Linked DNA regions of Homo sapiens: regions 2, 3, 4 and 5 are each linked to region 1. Evidence: promoter capture Hi-C in 16 types of primary human blood cells and fetal thymus (Javierre and others, 2016). All regions are on one chromosome and are shown on one strand. Each heading gives the region's core, a stretch centred on a gene start or on the middle of the fragment in contact. The rest is flanking DNA. Distances are from core to core; before and after follow the strand shown.

The links. The method cuts DNA at HindIII sites, captures the fragments that hold promoters and counts their contacts. A CHiCAGO score of 5 or more calls a contact.
Region 2: the fragment with the promoter of POLR1F here is called in contact with the fragment with the promoter of ANKMY2 in region 1 in 1 of 17 cell types (non-activated CD4 T cells); the score reaches 5.5 in non-activated CD4 T cells.
Region 3: a contact is called between a fragment that was not itself captured here and the fragment with the promoter of ANKMY2 in region 1, in 2 of 17 cell types (non-activated CD4 T cells and total CD4 T cells). The highest score is 6.3, in non-activated CD4 T cells.
Region 4: the fragment with the promoter of TMEM106B here is called in contact with the fragment with the promoter of ANKMY2 in region 1 in 3 of 17 cell types (naive CD8 T cells, activated CD4 T cells and naive CD4 T cells); the score reaches 8.0 in naive CD8 T cells.
Region 5: a fragment that was not itself captured here is called in contact with the fragment with the promoter of ANKMY2 in region 1 in 1 of 17 cell types (naive CD8 T cells); the score reaches 6.4 in naive CD8 T cells.

The regions. Positions count from the first base shown.
Region 1 is chr7:16,644,366-16,647,119 of GRCh38, reverse strand. ANKMY2 (ankyrin repeat and MYND domain containing 2) reads left to right here and starts at 1,366. Exons shown (of 10, transcript NM_020319.3): 1 at 1,366-1,613. The coding sequence starts at 1,547. It overlaps BZW2 (basic leucine zipper and W2 domains 2), which reads right to left and starts at 939. Exons shown (of 12, transcript NM_014038.3): 1 at 832-939. RefSeq lists an enhancer at 960-1,239. The HindIII fragment of the contact is 5,140 bases long and covers 1-2,754 here.
Region 2 is chr7:19,707,683-19,710,382 of GRCh38, reverse strand. It overlaps POLR1F (RNA polymerase I subunit F), which reads left to right and starts at 1,346. Exons shown (of 4, transcript NM_001002926.2): 1 at 1,346-1,620. The coding sequence starts at 1,367. RefSeq lists enhancers at 1,194-1,473, 1,015-1,617, 1,584-1,653, 1,618-2,222. The HindIII fragment of the contact is 8,345 bases long and covers 1-2,700 here.
Region 3 is chr7:12,691,949-12,694,679 of GRCh38, reverse strand. No RefSeq gene overlaps it. Among named protein-coding and RNA genes, the nearest start is that of ARL4A, 5.7 kb to the right of the region's middle. The HindIII fragment of the contact is 4,891 bases long and covers 1-2,731 here.
Region 4 is chr7:12,209,968-12,212,667 of GRCh38, reverse strand. It overlaps TMEM106B (transmembrane protein 106B), which reads right to left and starts at 1,374. Exons shown (of 8, transcript NM_001134232.2): 1 at 1,243-1,374. RefSeq lists enhancers at 657-1,173, 1,566-1,615, 1,174-1,692, 1,826-1,975 and a silencer at 1,076-1,385. The HindIII fragment of the contact is 6,470 bases long and covers 1-2,700 here.
Region 5 is chr7:12,674,312-12,677,011 of GRCh38, reverse strand. It overlaps LOC105375157 (a long non-coding RNA gene), which reads left to right and starts at 1,422. Exons shown (of 3, transcript XR_927043.2): 1 at 1,422-1,602; 2 at 2,241-2,343. RefSeq lists an enhancer at 729-1,928. The HindIII fragment of the contact is 1,173 bases long and covers 758-1,930 here.

The sequences.
Region 1 (2,754 bases), core at 117-2,616:
AAATACACACTTGTATTTACCCCCATCTACCTATGGTCGAAGCTCCAGGCTACATATTACAGTTGAATGAAGGTTGGATTAAGAGGCTAATCTAAGGCTATATATAGGCAGCAACACCAATTTAATCTCCGCCCTCTCCAACCTCCCCACCCTCCACTCCCTATTTCCATAAATCTCAAGATCTGAGTTACAAAGAGAACCGAGAACTCTAGCAGAGCAAAGAAGCCCTTCCTTCCCCCTCCCACAGGCTGTCTCTCATAAACGAAGTATTAGTGCAAGTGTAAATTGTTTCCAAACATCTTTAACAAGCAACATTGGGCGATCAGGTTTTCTTCTACAGCTTCCACAGAGGCCAAAGAGATGACAAGTAGTGGGGAGGGCGAGGATCACCAGCGTAAAAACTACCTTCTCCCGAGTCTGTTCTCACTGACTCGCTAGTAATGGGGCGCTGTCCTTGCGACCCCTACCTAGCCCAGAGCCCCGGCCCCAGCCTCCCCGGGAGCCGCATCTGGCGGTGCCACGCACGAGACCATGTGCACCCGCCACTTCCCACCGCGTGGCTGGCCCCCGCCCGCCCGCCCGCGGTCCCAGGGTCTCCCGAGGCGGCCAAACGTTGCGAGTCGGAGGTCTTCATCCCAGGGCACTGATACCCCGTACGCGCCGTGATGATGAGGTGGAGCGGGGGCTTCTCCACCGCGAGGCAGGAAGCCGCCCCAGGAGGCACATGCTTCCTCCCCGCCAGCTCCTGCCCGATGGAAACCCCGGCGGGGCGGCAGTCGCTACTCTCGCAACCCTCACGGCGCCCCTTGCCTCACCTGGGCTGCTTCTCACCTGTCCGAGGAGGTAGCGACGACGCGCAAGGCTGGGGGCTGCGGCGATTCGTGCAGCAGCAGCGGCAGCAGCAGCAGCAGCAGCAGTGGCGGCAGACAATGGAGGAGTGAAGGACAGACACATTGACATAGACACACGGAACCCGGCGCAGCCCCGCCTCCCGTACCGCCCCCGTCTCCTAGACCGCCCCCGCCCAGACTGCGCCACTCCCGGGGGAATGGTGGGGGTACGGCGACAACCTGGGGCCTCTGCATGCCCCAGAAAGCCGTCGCTGAGCACATAACTGCCAGCTGTAGAATTTTCAATATTACATGTGGCGAAATATTTGAACCGGACAGGATAGGGGAGCGGAACGTGTAGGAGGAATTTAATTCCCCCCTCCAGCTTTCTGCATTTGGTTTTGTCCTCCCAGGTTGCTCCAATGGCGATCTCTCGCTACCGCCTCCTGCGGCTCCTCCTCCTCGGCAGGGCCAATGACAGGCGGCAGGCGGTGACCGCCGCAGGGCCTGCGGAGACCGTCCGCCTGGCTCGCCCGAGCTCGCCCGCTGTCCGCCAGCCCGCGGGAGGGAGGAGAGAAGCGAAGCGTTTCCGCGGTTGGCTACTCAGTGTCTTGGTCTCAAGTTGCCTCATTGCGGCTGGCGTTCCCAATACAGACGCATCGTTTCTTTTTTAATACTCCCTAAGAAAGGGAATAACCTTCAAGCTGGCGGGAGCAATGGTTCACATAAAGAAAGGCGAGCTGACCCAGGAGGAGAAGGAGCTACTGGAAGTCATCGGGAAAGGTACGGGTGCTGGGCTGCGACGCGGCCGCGGCCAGCCTGGCCGGGGGGCGTGGCGGAGCCCGGGGGGCGCTCCTGGCCTGGGTGACCTTTGGCTGCGGTTCTGCAAGGTTTGCAGCCTGGAACCGGGAAAGAGCGTTTCTCCCTTTGGTCTGGGAAAGGTTGCAGGGGCGGAGAGGTGGGGAGGCAGAAGCAGTGCTGGGACAAGAGGGGTAGTTACAGAGGCTCGGCCTCTAAATCCGCTTTTGGAAACGTACGGATTTCCACGCCCCGCCTTAGGTTAATGCGAGCTTCCCGGGGTGTGGACCCCAGTGTGTGAATTCTTCACTGCTCCCGAGGGATTTTGACCGCGGTCAGTCCTGGTAGTTTCAGGTTCTTAGGCGGGTGTCTAAATGACCCTTTAGACTTCCGCAGGCCGAATGATCTGGATCCTTTGCCGATCCCCGCCCCCGCTTGGGAGTGGAGGGCGCCCTTAGGGAGAGGGGTTCTTCATAAGGGTACAGAACTAGGTCTGTAATTTGCTGCATTGAGACTTCCGTATCCAGGGCCTCCCTGGCTTCCAGAAGCCCCGACAGCCTCAGGAACCCTAGAGAGACAAGGAAATTGGCGAGGCCTCCACACCCACCCCTCGGCCCACGTTGCACAGATGAGACCTTCTAATCGCGCTCCTTCGCGCTTTCTTGTCCACTCCCCCAAGGCGTGCCCCACTTCCGCAGTGCTGAGTCCCAGCGGGGAGCCCCGAGGACGAGCCAGAAGCCATATTTCCCCGGAGTCCCCGAGTGGACGTCCCAGAGGAGTTCCCTGCCGAGTCCCGTTACCTGGCAGGTGACATCAGCGTGACTGCATGCTTCTTCTGCACCCTCACGGTGCAGGGATGGTGATGCGTGCGACTCCGGGCAATTAATGTGGTGATTTTAAACTCAATAATAATATAGCCATGTTTGTCCTCGAATGGCAGAGATGCCAGTCATTGCAGCATAAGGCTTCCCAGTTTCCAGTTTTATTTACTTAGTAGCCAGGCTGAAATGTGGAATCCTAGAGAATAAGGCAGATTTATTCTTCATAGCGACAAGGAAACTCCACATGCGAAGGAGAAAAAATTCCGGTTTGAACTCAACAGGTGCTGATGAGCTGAGCCCACCCG
Region 2 (2,700 bases), core at 97-2,596, 3.1 Mb before region 1:
ATGTTTATGTTTAGATCCCACTTCCACTTAGGCTGTGAGCTCTTTATCACTTATTATTTATTAACTCACTATCAGGTTATTCATTCAAGATGTATTGGTTGGGTTTTTCTTGGTTTCGTTTCTTTGGAGGAGGGATAAATTGTGGGGGGCTACTGTAGTGAACAATACAGATATTATGGTCCCCACTTTAGTGAGTGTAGGAATCTATTGATGGAACAGGCAAGCAAAGACAGTTAATAAAAAATTAACATAAAAACCAACATAGATGGGTAACTACCTAATCCTTATAGAGAAAGAGGAGTGGGGTGCTTGAAAACTCTTTGCAAAGGTATAGAATGTAAAATCTAAGCTAGAAATTCATACATGAGTAGAATTTACCCTTGTGAAAAATGCTATTATATTCCCTGGTGGAAGGAACAGCGTGAGACTGCACAAAGAGAGACCTGAAAGTAGATCAAGCAGCATGATAATATTAGGGTGGGGAGTGTGACAAATGAAGCTGAAGAGAGAGGCTGTGTGCCCACGCAGATCACAAAATGGCCTTGTAACTTATAAGCCATTTTCATGAGTTTGTGTTGTCCTAGAGAAAATGGGGTGCCTATGTAGGGCTTAAACAGGGCACAACACGATCATATGTATTTCAGGGAAGATCTGGCTGCCCCAGAGTGTCCTCCTGACCATTGAGCTAGGCTTCCACAGGCAGGGAGTCCTGCGGTTTTGGCGGCAGGGAAAGAGAATAGTGTCCAAATAGAATGATATTTCCACTTTGGGCAATACAGGTCTTCAGGCTGATTTGATACTTGGGGATACAAAAGAGGATCCGAGGCTGACAGCTTGGCTGTATGATTCCCTGATTTAGCAGTTGCATAATGAGAAGAGAAGCGGGACAGGAGAGAACTAGTGGGTTCGTTTTCAGATGCGTTGCATTACAATTATCAGGCCTGCTTAGGATTCCGTGTACTGCATAAAATATACTCCATAAATATTTTGATTTTTTATTGTACAGTCCAAGCCTGTAAAATTCTACCAAACCCACCTCACTACTGGAAATGATCAAAGTGAGAACCCCCATTTTTAAGCTACCTACTTAATCCAATAAGCCTCTGTGCGAAAACACACATTTGCCTGCCCTTAAAAGAGCAGTCGGTTGGCTTTCCTGCGTGCTCAATGCATTTCCGAGGCTCTAAGCTCCCGTTCTCGAAGCGCGAAAACGCGGTTCCCCCTGCTGGTCAGGGCTGCGTAATGCAGCGAAAAGAGGGGAAATTCCTAGGGGCGTGGTCGTTGGTGGATGGCGTAAAACGAGCGCCGGGGACATGGGATTGTGCTTGCGTCAACGGCGCGCGCCGTGGGAACCTTGACAAGCAGCATGGCTGCAGGTTGCTCAGAGGCGCCGCGGCCAGCGGCGGCTTCTGATGGGTCTCTGGTAGGGCAGGCTGGCGTCCTGCCTTGCCTAGAGTTGCCGACTTATGCCGCTGCTTGTGCGCTGGTGAACAGTCGCTACTCATGCCTGGTGGCCGGGCCGCACCAAAGGCACATCGCGCTGTCGCCCCGCTACCTTAACAGGAAACGCACCGGCATTCGAGAACAGCTTGATGCGGAGCTCCTTCGCTATTCTGAGAGGTACCGATCTCTTTGCCTGTTCCTTCTTTTGTGCACGGGAAGTAAAGCAGGTGGATGTGCTGACGACGCAGCAGAAAGGGGCAAATGGCAAAGGTCGCATTGCCCCCCAGAGCTTAGCCCCCTGGATTTCTAGAGTCGCGATCCGTCCCTCAAGGCCAGTACCGCTCTGGTAAAGATCTATACAGGGTCCCTTTCATAGATAGAGAAGAAAACTTAAAGATGAAGTTCAGGTGTGGGCGGAGGGAGTGGAGATTCTTGCTCCAGAACCCTGGTGTAGGGGTAGGAAAAGACCAGGGATCTGGAGACCTAGTAGGCCCAGTTCTGTTTGGCATTCAACGTTTCATTTATCCCCTTACGGATGATGCTTTCTCATTTGACGATAAAAATCTGGTTTGCAGTGCTTGAGTAGATTCTCATTCCATAGAAGATAGCATACGAAGCATTAGTACAACCGTTCTATTTGTAAAACATGAAGGACCTTTTTTGTTGTTGGATTTCGCTCTGGTAATTTCCCCATTTTCTCTTCTCTTGGACCTGATCTGGGGATTATGAAAATGCCATTAGTTTAGCGGGATTTTGTTGTTTTTAAGAAGATTTATTCAGTCGAACTAGTGAGCCTGTTGCTTTGGGGAGAGAAAAAACCAAAACGTATGCATTTATATTACGGTATTCAAAAGTGACTTGAAAACTTAGAATTACAGAGGTGTGGGGCGGGGGGCGCGGGCATGTGCTTGAGTATTCCTCTGGACTATACTTTGGTTTAAAAGCGGGGTTCTAAAACTAGAGGGAATGGATTCTCTAGGGATTCATGATTGCCCTTCAGGAATTCCTATGTGAAGTTCCTTGGGCACTGCATCGGAAGTTTTTATCAGTTTCTTAAGGGATCCTGGACCTCCACCCATGTCTAGAATCTGCAGATTCTTCCAAGCACCAATATACACTTCTTGTATGTTTATATTACATACCGAACACTTGAGATACAAAAACAAAAAATAAAATCTCTGTTTCAAGGAGCTTTAAGCTGTAGGAGAGATACAAATACAAGCCAATAAATAGTAAAGTGTTAAAATTTGACAGAAA
Region 3 (2,731 bases), core at 175-2,674, 4.0 Mb after region 1:
ATTAAATAAACCAGACTCAACATGTCTACAAAGCAAGTAAGAGATTTTGTGAAACAAATATATCTAAAACATAATCCCACATAAAATAACAATTCCAAGTGACCTTAAAATACAAGAATTTACCTCCAGTGAGATATACCTAAAGGACAAAGGTAACTACAACATTCTTAAACCACTACCAGTCATCAAATTATTGACAGTAGTATTGCATTGAGATTAAAGTGGAATAAAGCAAATAAACAACTGTGTGTTGCTCATAACTAATATTTTTGGCATGAGTGAAAAGAGATAATAATATCACTGAAACTAAATAAATGCCTTATCATTCTGAATGTAAATCTTTGAATTGGAACTATCACTGTGAATTAATAATGTATCTAATCTTAAAAAAATAGAGTTCTAGTACTATCCACTGAAAAGGCCTAGAAACAATGACAAATCCAGTAATAGACTGTGGACTCTAAATACCATTTCCTAATACAAGGAACCTGGCATCCTAGAAAAACAGATCTGGGACAGGAAATGTACAGGTTAAGGGACTTTGTGTTAAATGAGAAATCAAAAAAGCCATCAAAAACTACTAGGGTTCTGTGAAAAAGACTCAGTTCTCTCTAAAGATGAGACAATTTATGCATAAATGGGAATAATAAGCTGCAAGAGATAGAAATATATCAATATATCAAATATATATATATTTTTTGAAATGGAGTTTCGCTCTTGTCACCCAGGCTAGAGGGCAATGGCGCAATTTTGGCTCACTGCAACCTCCGCCTTCTGGGTTCAAGCAATTCTCCTGCCTCAGCCTCCCGAGTAGCTGGGACTCCAGGCATGCACCACCACGCCCAGCTAATTTTCTGTATTCTCACGCCTGTAATCCCAGCACTTTGAGAGGCCGAGTTGGGAGGTTCACGAGGTTAGGAGTTCGAGACCAGCCTGGCCAACATGGTGAAACCTCGTATCTACTAAAAACACAAAAATTAGCCCTGCATGGTGGCAAGTGTCTGTAATCCTAGATACTGGGGAGACTGAGGCAAGAGAATGGCATGAACCCAGGAGACTGAGGTTGCAGTTAACTGAGATCATGCCATTGCACTCCAGCTTGGGTGAAAAGAGCAAGACTCTGTCTCAAATAATAATAATAATAGAAATCTAAACACTGGATGGATATTTGGTTATTTTGAAGAAGCATATTTTTTTTACATGTGAGTGAAATTTTTTTAAGTGATTATCTTTTAGACACATATACCACTATTTATAAATGAAATGTAATTTCCAGAACTCACTTCAAAATAATCTAGAAGTGGAGGAAAAAGGAAGGTGGCATGGAAGGAAGTGAATGGAAGTATAGAGGAAACCAGATTGGCCCTGAGTTGATAATTAATGAAACTAGATGACAGATACTTGGGTGTTTGTTATATTATTCTACTTCTGTATAAGATTGAAATCTGTCATAACAAAAAGTTAAGATTTTATCTAAAGGTAGACCTTCACTGAAATGAATCAACTTCAACATCTCTCTTCAACCACTAATACAGGTAATCTCCACTTCAGTGCAACATAAACAGGAGACATAAAACAAGACCAAAGACTGAAAGTAACTGGAAAATAACACAGCACACATAATCACCCACAAACACAACCACCATCATCAACCAGATGTGCCCACAGATACTGCAAATTTGATCTTATCATTCGATCAAATTTGTGAATTATAGATAACAATCTTGAGGCATTTTGAAGAACCATAATATATAGTTTCAAATTTTAATGTCTGAAAAGTGAGGTATTGTATTTTGATATATGCCTACACCAGAAAATAACCGAGATTTTAAATTAAATTTTATCTCTTACAGGGAAAGGTAAGATAATATTGTGTTACAATAAATTGGTACTTTAGAAACCTAAGTACCATATGATCCCTTGAAATGATCCATATTTCAAGGGAGTTCAGCATATTTAGACTTTCACTAAGTTCCACCAAGTTGCCATTTTGTGACATGTATGAGCTCACTATGTTATATTCCCCTGCCAAAACAAGTATTTTCTTTAAATACGTTGATCATAAGGTATTCTGGCTATTAATAACTATCAATTGAATGCTTACTAAAGTGTCAGTTACTCTGCTAAATATCATTGCTTGATTTAATCCTTTTAATCAGTTATACCCCAGTGGTAGATATATATAACCCACACTTTACAAATTAAGAAACTAAGGCTGCAAGTAAATTGCCCCAGATGAAATAATAAACATATTGATTCCTACTGGTTAACAATAGTAGGTCAGTTTTTATCAAATGCTTGGCAATATGTGAAAGTTTGTACATGTTATTTCAACACTCTCAAAATTCTATGAAACAGTCTTCATTTAACCAGGAGGGCATTCTCATCATAAGTTTCAAGGAATTTGCTAAAGGTTCATGTGTAATAACGGGAGAGCCAGGATTTGAACACTGATCTGACTCCAAAGCTCATGTTTTTAGCCAGTACATTTAACATCCTCCTAAACTAGCTTCCTGTACAGGTATTCCCATATTTTTAATGTGCATGCACAGAATTGAATACATACTCTGGCTATGGTTTGTTGAGACTATTACTTCTGATCTTCATAGATTTTAATATTAACATTATGATTTTACATTTCCAGAATGTTCCGCCAAATTTAAACCTTAAAGGTAAAATTCCAGCTTCAAATGATGGTGTACTCAAGATTCTCAATTGCATCAGCTGAATG
Region 4 (2,700 bases), core at 125-2,624, 4.4 Mb after region 1:
ATGGCACTTGTACTCCATGAATATACACAAAATAAATACAAAGATAAAAAAATAAATAAAATTCGCATGCCATCCACTTGTTGCTGTCACTCAAATAAACAGAATTTAAAAAACTATACAAATGGTATGCAAACAAATGTAAAATGAGATTTTCACTCTTTCAAAAAAAAAAAACTATGTATTTATAAAAATCACTGCCCACATCAAAAATACAAATGATTTATGACTTCTAAAAAATCATTGTCTTAATCAACACCTGTCAGCCACAGGTAGGATAGGGAAGACTTAACATCACTGTCCCCACACACTGTAACCTTGGGGTCTATGCGGAACACTAGATGAATTGGGATCATTGGGCCTTATCAGCAAGGCCTTAAGGGCACTCTTTCTGGGATCTCAGTCAACACAGCCAGGCTGTAAGCTGCATCTTAACTGGAGCGCGTTGAGAAAAAAGACACAGAAAGGCAGACTCAAGTGGCTCTCCGTTTGAGCCTGTTTTCTGTCCTAATCTAATAGCTGCCATGATCGATTCTGCTTTAGGGTAGGTGTTTGGACAAGTGCCAGACTCTGTGAGAAACTGGGAATCCCTTGCCTTCTCTACTAGATTTTCCTTAGAGAACTGACAAGTGTAACCACTTTTATTCTTGGGAGACTCAATGGTTTAAAAAAGGGGTGCTAGACCCTCTTCTGCAACCTCTGTGGGCTCAGTGTTATTTATTATAGCGGTTCCTTAGTTTACTGAAAGTCAACATGGATATCAGACTCAGTTTGGAGAGAAAAAATATATCACAGCACTCCAATTTAAATGGCTCCTGATCTTCTGTGTAGACACTGGTTTTAGTTCTAAAAGGGCTTGAGAACTAAGGAAACAAGCGCCTTTGAAAAGCTCCATAAACAACACCTAGCACAAAGCCTACTCTGTAAAGCTGCAAAATAAGATCCCGGCACCACGGCAAGAACATTCATCAACAGCAAAAGGAAGAGGGCCACCTGGCGCTCAAGGTGTGAGGGCCTAGAGGCAACCCAGAGGTAGGGCTTGGGCCGAAGCCGAGTGTTCCCTGGCTGGGCCTCATTAGAGGCGACACAGCAACTCGATCACCAGCCCTGACCGCCGCCGTACCTGCGGCTGGCCCAGCACCCCAGCGGCCTCCCCTCCTTGTCAGGCCCGGCTCAAGCCGCGGCGCAGCCGCTCAGCCTCGCTCCGGAAGGGGACCTGGGGACTGCACGTCCGGGGTCGCTCACCGGCACGCGGGGCGCTGCGCAGTCCCGGGCTGCTTCGGCGCGGACAGGGCCGAGGACAGGGTCGTGGAGTCCACAGTCCCGGGAGCCGGGGGGTGGAGCGACCGGCCTGGAGCGCGCGGCCGCCGTAGAGCTGGGACGGGGGAGGGGTAGGATAACGACGGCATCAGCAGAGGCCAAGCGCTGCTGTAACCTGCGTCCGCGCCTGCGCAGAGCGCTCCCGGAGGGACACCCCTGGCGTGCGCGTGACGCATGCGTCCTTCTTCCTCCTGTTTGAGCCCAGAGGCGTCGATCGTGTGAGATTGTGCGCTCTTCAGGTTTCATTACCTTCGCGTCCCCCAGACTTCAAAGTGTCCACTGTAGCCACGAATTACCTAGGAACAGTCGCTCCTCCTATTTCCCATATCAGACCATTTCCTTTTGCAAAGGGTATAAATGTGCACCATCTGCCTCAGCTTTCAGCTGAGCAGCCTCCTCGCTCACGCAATGCGAGTTGTCGCTGACAGTCTGGTCCTTAGGAATGGAATAAACTGGTCCGTACACACGCCGCTGACAGCAGCAAAGCTACCTCTATTTTAATTTAGAAACTGGCCAACTAGAAGGAGACAGCAAGCGGCAAGGCCGTAGTTTTTGTTTTTGCTCGGTTTCGTTTCGCTTTGCCCACGCTGCCCCTCCCCACCCCTTAACTCTGGTGCTAGTTACAGGTGTGTGAAATCCCGTCTCGGATCCCAGTACTTAAGCTCTTCGCTGTGGGTTGGGGCTGCCCTCCCCCAACGTCTAGGTCATTTCACTTAGAAGATAAGAACAACGACAAGGAGTCGTTTTGAGGGATCAATGAGATGCCGGTAATAATATTAAGGGCACTCTAGTCTCATTCCTGCGGAGAGTTTAACGTTTAATGAATGGTAGGCATTCTTACAGTCACAGGAGCAAGGAAGTGAGAGTCATATATTTCTCTCTTCTAACAGGATCAGTGTGATCCTGTTAGAATCAGGGAATTCTAACAGGAATTGGGAAATGAAGCTATGTAAAAGTAGGAAATACAAGTCAGAACGATATACAATTTAAGAGGATTACTGTAGATCCATATGTGAGATAATGAGCTTTCTCATACAATGTTGTCGGAGATTTAAAACTCCTAAGTTTTCTGGCAGACAGTCAGTATGTATCAAGACTATTAAAATGTTCACATCGTTTGGTCCAGCAATTCCACCCTTTCAGAAGTATCCTAAACCTAATGAGAACTCTAAAAAGATTTGGGTATGAGGTGTATCCATTTAAATAAACTGAATGTCCAACAAGGGACATTGATAAAATCATTATTTTTCAACCGCTTTTATTTAGCCCATATTTTCCAAAGGGAAGGGTCAGGGTGTCTTCCATTAACACTGTTTGAAATTTCAAAATTAATAGGTTGGTTAAAACAAATCAGAATCATGGGGGAAAATTTTTCTCAAAATT
Region 5 (2,700 bases), core at 95-2,594, 4.0 Mb after region 1:
AGCTGGTTATTTTGCTCGTTCGTTAATGCAGTTTCTTCCTAGCATCGATGGTCTTTACAATTTGGCATGTTTTTGCAGTGGCTGGTACTGGTTTTTCCTTTCCATGTTCAGTGCTTCCTTCAGGAGCTCTTGTAAGGCAGGCCTGGTGGTGACAAAATCTCTCAGCATTTGCTTGTCTGTAAAGGATTTTATTTCTCCTTCACTTATGAAGATTAGTTGGGCTGGATATGAAATTCTGGGTTGAAAATTCTTTTTTTTTTAAGAATGTTGAATATTGGCCCTCACTCTCTTCTGGCTTGTAGGGATTCTGCCAAGAGATCTGCTGTTAGTCTGACGGGCTTCCCTTTGTGGGTAACCTGACCTTTCTCTCTGGCTGCCCTTAACATTTTTTCCTTCATTTCAACCTTGGTGAATCTGACAGTTATGTGTCTTGGGGTTGCTCTTCTAGAGGAGTATCTTTGCAGTGTTCTCTGTATTTCCTGAATTTGAATGTTGGCCTGCCTTGCTAGGTTGGGGAAGTTCTCCTGGATAATATCCTGAAGAGTATTTTCCAACTTGGTTCCATTCTCCACATCATTTTCAGGTACATCAATCAAATGTAGATTTGGTCTTTTCACATAGTCCCATATTTCTTGGAGGCTTTGTTCATTTCTTTTTATTCCTTTTCTGTAAACTTCTCTTCTCGCTTTATTTCATTAATTTGATCTGCAATCACTGATACCCTTTCTTCCACTTGATCAAATCAGCTATTGAAGCTTGTGCACGCGTCACATAGTTCTCATGCCATGGTTTTCAGCTCCATCAGGTCATTTAAGGTCTTCTCTACACTGTTTATTCTAGTTAGCCATTCATCTAATCTTTTTTTCAAGGTTTTTAACTTCCTTGCGATGGGTTCGAACATCCTCCTTTAGCTCGGAGAAGTTTGTTATACCGACCTTCTGAAGCCTACTTCTGTCAGCTCGTCAATCTCAGACTGCTGCGCTAGGAGTGAGCAAGGCTACATGGGTGTGGGACCTGCTGAGCCAGGTGCAGAATATAATCTCCTGGTGTGCCATTTGCTAAGACCAATAGAAAAGCACAGTATTAGGGTGGGAGTGTCCTGATTTTCCAGGTACATGGCTTCCCTTGCCTAGGAAAGGGAAATCCCCTGATCCCTTGTGCTTCCCGGGTGAGGTGACACCCCACCCTGCTTTGGCTCACCCTCCGTGGGCTGCACCCACTGTCCAACCACCAATGAGATGAATCAGGTACCGCAGTTGGAAATGCAGAAATCACCTGTCTTCTACGTCATTCACACTGGGAGCTGCAGACTGGAGCTGTTCCTGTTCGGCCATCTTGGAATGGAATCTGGAGATCTTTTTATCATTGAGCATAAGGTTCTAGAAGCTGGATTTTACAATTTTCCACTCAGATCTACTTAATCAGATTATCTCAAGGTAAGGTCTTTAGAAACTAATAGAACAAGAAGTAACTGGAAATCACTGACTGAAGCTGTCAGAAGTTGGTGCAGGATAAATTTCAAGTCACTGATAAGATGGAATGTAGGTGATAATACTAAAGAAGACAGAAGACGGAAACTTGGAGAAAAGCCTATATTTTCAGGTTCACAGAATTTTTAAAAACCAGATTGCTTTGTACAATTCTTTAATTGTTGGGAGGGAGTCAGAAGAGATGGTGCCAGGTACAGGTGCGTTTACTCTGGCAGGGGAGACTGCTTCTCTACTATGCTTACAATCCAGGCCAGTATGAATCCATATTGTGATCTTTGTCTACAGAACTAAAAGAGGGCTTGGACAGAGGTGGAGGAAGAAGGAGTTGCAACTGCTCAGCTGTATTGACAGCAGGACTGTATGTAGGTCTTACTTTCACTTGTAGTGAATGTAGGTCATCCCTAGCACAGAAGGTTGTGTTGCGAAAAGCAAAACAAGCTTTCAGGGAAGATTCAAGATAGGAGTGGTAAGTGCGCCCTCTTTAGGTTGTGCAGGATCAAAGGAAGAATCAAACAGGACTGCAGATCTCATAGTTTCTACCACTAGTTCCAAACCGGGCAATTGATAAGCGTTTAGAAAAGATTTATAGAATGAATAAATGAGCAAATTAAGTGTGCCTTAGAATCTTTGTGCCTCATTTTTCTTACTGGGTTGTTCTGGGGAGAATGAATGAAGTTGCTGTAGCTGTAATATGAATAATTGTTAGATAAAATAGTACTTTATTGATATATGATTACTTTTACTTTTTAGGTTTCTGAAGATCACAGAACTTAACTAAAACAACATATTTGTCATAAGCAATTAAGATTTAAGCATTACTCTAGACTACGGAATTCTTTTTGGTGTAAAGCAGGTAAACTGAGCAATGATGCAGCATAGTTTCTGATCTAGTGAAGAGAAAGATAAAATCGCTGGCTATCTGCAAGTAATTTAATGACCAAACTGAGATCTAAATTTGACATTTGAAAAAAAAATTAGAATTTCTCTAAAAACCAACATATGTTAAATAAATGAATGCAAGGCAGTTAGTTTACAGGGTTTTTTTTTTAGTTTCTCGCATTTATCAATTATCCTCAAAACTGTCCTCTAGGGAAAGCAAGATCTGTGCGATTTACCATTATTTTATAAATGAGGAAACTGAGGCTTAGTTAGGTTAAGAGATTTACTTGCTGAAGATTACTAAACTAGTAATTTTTGGATCTGTAACTTG